Regions from separate parts of the Homo sapiens genome. Here region 1 is linked to region 2. Evidence: promoter capture Hi-C in 16 types of primary human blood cells and fetal thymus (Javierre and others, 2016). All regions are on one chromosome and are shown on one strand. The core of a region is centred on a gene start or on the middle of the fragment in contact, and the rest is flanking DNA. Distances in the headings are between cores, read along the strand shown. Region 1 overlaps SMIM31 (small integral membrane protein 31). Region 2 holds the start of TRIM61 (tripartite motif containing 61).

What was found. Contacts are between HindIII fragments. The CHiCAGO score rates a contact against its expected background, and 5 or more counts as called.
Region 1: a contact is called between a fragment that was not itself captured here and the fragment with the promoter of TRIM61 in region 2, in 1 of 17 cell types (megakaryocytes). The highest score is 5.6, in megakaryocytes.

The regions. Positions count from the first base shown.
Region 1 is chr4:164,778,164-164,781,557 of GRCh38, reverse strand. The region is part of intron 2 of SMIM31 (small integral membrane protein 31); the gene reads right to left. Among named protein-coding and RNA genes, the nearest start is that of SMIM31, 26 kb to the right of the region's middle. The HindIII fragment of the contact is 667 bases long and covers 1,500-2,166 here.
Region 2 is chr4:164,976,171-164,979,600 of GRCh38, reverse strand. It overlaps TRIM61 (tripartite motif containing 61), which reads left to right and starts at 1,944. Exons shown (of 3, transcript NM_001414904.1): 1 at 1,944-2,070; 2 at 2,776-2,913. RefSeq lists enhancers at 1,666-1,725, 1,756-1,835. The HindIII fragment of the contact is 561 bases long and covers 1,716-2,276 here.

The sequences.
Region 1 (3,394 bases), core at 584-3,083, 200 kb after region 2:
GCCTAAAACAATAATGAGGTTGAGAAACACTAACTTAGCAAAACACATTTGAGATTCATTCATATTGTTGCATGTATCAATAGTTTGTTTCTTTTTTATTGCTTAATAATATTCTGGTTTATAAATGTATTAGAGTCTGTTTATTCATTTACCTGCTAAAGGACATTTGGGCTGTTCTCATTTTTTGGCAATTGTGAATAATGGTATAAACATTTGTGTAAATGTTCTTGAGTGAAGGTAAGTACTGGGAGTAGGATTGTTTGGTCCTTTGGTAAGCATATGTTTTATCTTTGTAAGAAATTCCAAACTGCTTTCCAAACTGGCTGTACCATTTTGCGTTCCCACCAGCAACATATGAGAATTCCAGTAGTTCTTCATCTTCAGCAGTACTTGGTATTGTGTGTGTGTGTGTGTGTGTGTGTGTGTGTATGTAAATGTAGTATATGTAGGGCCAGGAATGGTGGCTCACACCTGTAATCCCAGCACTTTGAGAGGTGGAGGTGGGACAATTGCTTGAGGCCAGGAGTTTGCGACCTGCCTGGGCAACATAGCAAGACCCCTGTCTGTACCAAAATTAAAAAATAGCCGGGTGTGGTTGCATGTGCCTCTAGTCCTAGCTACTAGTAGGCAGAAATAAGAGGACTGCTTTAGCCCAGGAGTTTGAGGCTTCAGTGAGCTATGATTGTGCCACTTTACCTAGCCTGGGTGACACAGCAAGTCACTGTCTTTAAGAAAAATAAAAATTAAAAAAAGTAGTATATATATTTAAATTTTAGTCATTCTAATAGATGTGTAGTAGTATCCCATTATGGTTTTAGGTTTGTCTGGTTTTGGCTAATTTTTAGAATTTTAGAATTTAATGCACATTTTCTGAGATTTCAAAAATAGTATTATAAAAACAGTGTTTGATAATACACACAGTTATTAATGCCTTTGTAGGCATTCATTCTGTTCTTCCTCATTGTAGAGCTACTGATCCTTTTACAGCTTCTATTTTAAAATAATCCAGTTTACCAGTATTAGGATTCATTGATCTACAAAGGCCTTCAGGACACACCTGGCCTAGGCCCCTGCCTACTACATGGATTTTGAGAAAAAGAGAAGAAGCTATTCGTTTTTTGTTTGTTTTTTGAGATGGAGTCTCGCTCTGTCACCCAGGCTGGAGTGCAGTGGCGCAATCTCGGCTCACTGCAACCTCCACCTCCCGAGTTCAAGCAGTTCTCCTGCCTCAGCCTCCCGAGTAGCTGGGACTACAGGCATGCGCCACCACGCCTGGCTAATTTTTTGTATTTTTAGTAGAGACGGGGTTTCACCATGTTGGCCAGGCTGGTCTTGATCTCCTGACCTTGTGATCCACCCGCCTTGGCCTCCCAAAGTGCTGGGATTATAGGTGTGAGCCACCGCGCCCGGCCACTATTCCTATTTTTAAATATGATTAAGGGATTATCTGGAAGAGTTGCATGCATTGCTCACAGTTCACTGGGGAAAAAGACAAAGCTTTGGCATTCCCAGTGTTTAGCATGGTGGCTGGTGTGAAATTAGTTTTACACAGGCAGCACCGGGACACAACAGAGCAAAATTATTTTTCTTGGATTCGGGTGTTTGTCAAACATTGCCGTCTACTGGCTGGCTGCTGCAATTACTTCTAAGACATGCCAAAAAACCAGTTTGTTGCCTGTTCTCAAAATTTGCTGTCTCCACCTCTAACAATCCATATTAAATAGATTAATAATCCTTCTTTTAAAGCATAACTTTATTGATTCCTCTATATCCCTAAATATGTGTGTCAGGAACATTGATGCAGAGAGGATATTTTGATTTCATTTAAAACAAGCCTGAAATTTGCCCTGGTAAATAATGAACAGTCTCATTCCATGCAAGTTTGTGGCTTTCAGTTGAGATAAATAGGAAGACCTCAGTCTCACTTATGGCCATGTCTTCTTAATTTTGGACAATTTGGTTTATAAAGGCAGAAGAGTCATTGTATTCAGAGATAACAGAAAAATTGCAAAAAAAAATTGCTGACTTTTCCATGACAAAAATTTGCAGAAAAATAACTTTAAAACTATGTGAAATAATAGAAAGTCTACAGATTGGCCACTAATCTCAGTTTGGTCTTTTGCTAATAGGGGCTTTCCTCACTTTTACGAAGAAGAAGCAGAAGCTTCCAATTCAGGATCCAGACATTTTGGCATTTTTTTCCTAACAATTTAACTGGAAACCTTGGTGCCTGTGGCCTTTGGCACCCGCAGAACTATGTTGTGAAGTATTAGCTCAGCATGCCCAATAGTTTAGCCACACGCTACGGAAATAGCTGCGGTGACCAAAATGTAAACCCACCTCTAATTACTGAAGAATTAGAAATGAACACAGTCTTCATGACATTCTCTAAGACTACAGTGTTTTAGGCATACATACCCGAATGTTGAACTTCTCTGCGACCAAAAGACATTTAATTTATGTTCAATCAAACCTAGTTAATTACAAACACAACTTTAAGGTAGTTAAAGAAACCCTCAGTTGAAAAAGATGTAGCTGATGCGCTGGAGTTTTTTTTTTTTTTCCTGTTTAGTGGATTCCATTCTCAATATTATTTTACATTTTTTCCAGGTTGAGAGGCCATTTTTAATTCACAAAGAGTTTATGGTTATAGTAAACATGGCGGATCATCAGTATCTGTCTATGTTTGTTCAAGGATACCTGAATTTAGATATGAGGGTTAACTTGGCAACTTGCCCATGATCACACAGTTAATTCTGAGTCAGTTCCCATCTTCACACTCACCCCTGTCTTAGGCATGTGGATGGAGAACCTGAGCCATGATCATGCTCACCGAGCTCTTCCTGCCTCTTCCTCTCCTTGGGCACATTGCTTCTGGGAATTTCATTTTCCTTATCTCCAAAGTAGACATAGCATTACTTCCCTGCTTTACAATGTGGTCATAGGGATGAAAGGAGGCTTAAATATGTTAAGTGCTTGGCAGACAGTGAACACTCAAAATATTATTTTTGTGCTATAGATATCGTCAGTTCTTATTTTGCAGACAACCCAAATTGTGTACCAAGGGAATAAATTTTTCATCGAGTCATCACATATAACTCCCTAAATGTGTGCTGGTACTATCAAATCATTTTGTATATTATTAGAGGTGTGTATTAAACTTTTGTTTTGTGCTTAATGTTGATTTTGGAGAAGAATGAGGTGGCATTGCAAAATAAAATTTTTTTTTTTAATCTGTTTACCTGGGTACAAATTTGTAGCTTCCCTACTTGATTTTGCCTCACTACTCTTGAGTGCTGAAAGGTTTATGTTTATTTATTTATTTATTTTTAAATAGAGATGAGGTCTCACTATGTTGCCCAGGCTGATCTCAAACTTCTGGGCTCAAGCCATC
Region 2 (3,430 bases), core at 695-3,194:
CACGCGCCTGTAATCCCAGCTACTCTGTAGGCTGAGGCAGGAGAACTGTTTGAACCAGGGAGGCTGAACCCGCGAGGCGGAGCTTGCAGTGAGCCAAAATGGCGCCATTGTACTCCAGCCTGGGCGAAAATAACAAATAAATACCATGCACTCACCTCACTGCAAAGTAATATGGGGGAAGCTGCTGCCACTGGTATTTCTTTTCCTTTCTTTTTCAGGAGACTCTGGAATTTCAAAAGGTTTACGAACAAGGACTTTGCTTTATCGGTTGATTTGTCTAGGTCACACCTCTATTCAACTGTCCACCATACACCCTTTCTAGGATATATTAAAGGCATCGACGGGTCTTTATTCCACAATTCAAATCTTAGTACTTCATGTTTAAAATGCTTCACTGGCTTTTCTTTGCATTTGATAAAAACCAATATCCTCAATTTTGCCTAAAGGGCCTTGCAGCATTCATTCTCGCCTATCTCATCAGCCTCACAAAGCCATTTTCCATATTTTATACTTCTTGCAATTTCCCACGTTGTAGTGCCAACCAAATGACCTCTTTCAGTTCCTTTTGTACCAAGTTTTTAAAAATTATCATCTCTAGGCAGGGCGCGGTGGCTCACGCCTGTACTCCTAGCACTTTGGGAGGCCGAGGCGGGCGGATCACGAGGTCAGGAAATCGACACCATCCTGGCTAACACGGTGAAACCCCGTCTCCACTAAAAATACAAAAAATTAGCTGGGCGTGGTGGCAGGCACCTGTAGTCCCAGCTACTCTGGAGGCTGAGGCAGGAGAATGGCGTGAACCCGGGAGGCGGAGCTTGCAGTGAGCCGAGATCACGCAACTGCACTCCAGCCTGGGCCACAGAGCGAGACTCCGTCTCAAAAAAAAAATAAAAATAAAAATAAAATTATCATTTCTGGCTGGGTGAGGTGGCTCACGCCTGTAATCCTGGCACTTTTGGGAGGCCGAGGCGGGCGGATTGCCTGATCTCAGGAGTTCGAATCCAGCCTGGGCAACACGATGAAACCCCGTCTCTACTAAAAATACAACAACAAAAAATTAGCCAGGCGTGGCGGCGTGCGCCTATAGACCCAGCTACTCGGGAGACAGAGGCAGGAGAATTGCTTGAAACTGGGAGGCAGAGGTTGCAGAGAGCCAAGATCGCGCCACTGCACTCCAGCCTGGGCGAAAGAGAGATTCCGTCTCTTATTAAAAGAAAAAAAAATCATTTCTAAAATATTTTGTAGACGCAGGGTCTGGCAATGTTACCTAGGCTTGTCCTGAACTCCTGGCCTCAAGCGATCCTCCCACCTCTGCCTCTGAAAGTGCTTGGATTACAGGTGTGAGCCACTATGCCCGGCCTGTACTAAATTCTTTAAAGTTGAGAGGCTCCACATTGGCTCTTCTTCCAGCCTTGAAGACTTTGACCGTGGAATTGATCCAACGAATGCCTCTTCATCCCTCAAATTCCGCCTGAAATGTCACTTCCTCAGGTAAACCTGAGTTCATAGGGTAGGGCACAATCCCACAGGGTGGGAGAGATCCACCCACTCACCCACTGAGATGCAAACTAATCCAAAGGGGCTTCTATTCCTCTTTCAAGCATAGGGAGTGCTCAACGACTCCACCCTGCGACCCCAGGCTACGGGAAGCAGTTGACCCTGCAAAGCTCTCCACTCCCTCACCATCTGGGAGGGGACGCTGTGCTGGTGAAGCTTTTAAAACCAACTTGCAGACTTACTTGGACCCTCAAGTTTACTCATATACATAAAAAGTGATAAGAATCCGAAAAGACAGCCAGGGGAATTAAATGCCAGTTGGGGCCAACGGGGCCCTGATCACGGAAGAGGGCGCCCCCAGCTCTCAATCTTCACACAATCCCTGCACCCAGGGTCACAGAGCATGCGCAGGTCCTTCCCGCCCACTTCCGGGGCAACTGCCAACCACCGCGCAGGCTGAGCCCCAGGCAGGAAGCAGCCCACTTGGTGGGGTTGGGGTATGAGTCCTTCCTCGCGGGGGCTCGGTGGGTCCTGAGTATTCTTTGGCCGGATTTGCTGATCCGTCTGCTCCAGGTGAGCTGGGAAGGCCGCAGGAAAGGCCCAGAAGGGCCTCGCCAGGAGGCTTAACTGGACAGGGGCTTCTTGAACATTCTCTGTGCCTAAACCTCCGGGTCGCTGCCTGCCCACGACTGGATCTCCTTAGTGTCTGGCGTAGCTCTTGTGAAAAATTCAGGATTGTAGAGTTAGAATGGGGGTGTTGAGCCTGTATCAATTAAGCTTTAAATGTTATGATCTGAATTAGGGTTTATGAAGTGGCTATGTTATCTTCAAAGAGTTAATGTACGTGTTTGGGAGTGGGGGTTGGGGAGTTAAGGGAGCGAAGTGGTAGCTGCCAGTTGAGAACCCACCAGCCTACGTCGTCTGCACCCTCGACCTATGTAAGCATCCTGTAATCCTCACAAGGGTCTTACAGGTACGAATTATCATTTCAACTTTGTAGATGAGGCGCTTTAGGTGCAGGCATGTTAAGAATCAGCCAGTATGATGATGGTTGAAACTGAGAGCTTGGAATCTACCACAGGTTTTATTTATTCCTCAAACAAGCTAGAGACGTATTGCCACCAAGAAGCTTGCTGCCTGGTGAGGGGTTTTTACAGTTAGGTAAAGAATTGCAGAGTAGCTGTAAAATCACATAACTGTGATATGTGACATGATGGGAGCTAGGCAAAAAACTTGGACTAGATCTTAATGGATCTTTTTGCTTTGTTTTCCTTAAAGCATAGGTTCACAAAGTACAGTCCGCAGGCCAGCAGCATCATCTGGGAACTTAGGAAAAAACCAGCCCTACTGAGTCAGAAACTGGGGATGTGGCCCAGGCAATCTTTTACCAAGACCTCCAGGTGATTATAATGCAAGGTAAGATTTGAGAATTGCTTCCATAAAGTAATAAAGGACCAGTGGAATGTTTTCAGTTGAAATATGAAAGGATTCTGTTTGTATTTGAAAAGGTCAGTTTAGCTACAGACTTCAGAAATTGGAGGCACCATTGTGTATCTAGGAGAGAGACATAAGTGGTTTAAACTAGGGTGGTGACTGTGCCTACAGAGCTGTTCTGTTCACTTAATGTCCTGATTTTAAATAGTAGAGAAGACTGCTTTGGGTGTATGCTTGGGGAAAGGAGGGCACAATGATACCTGGAGTGAGTCCTCTTGTGTCCTTTATGAAGGGGTGGCCTGCCCCTCCACACCTGTGGGTATTTCTAGTCGGGTGGGACGAGAGACTGAGAAAAGAAATAAGACAGAGACAAAGTATAGAGAAACAACAGTGGGCCCAGGGGACCGGCGCTCAGCATACCAAGGACCTGCACCGGCACCGGCCTCTGAGTTCCCTCAGTTTTTATTGATTATTATTTTCATTATTTCAGCAAAAAGGA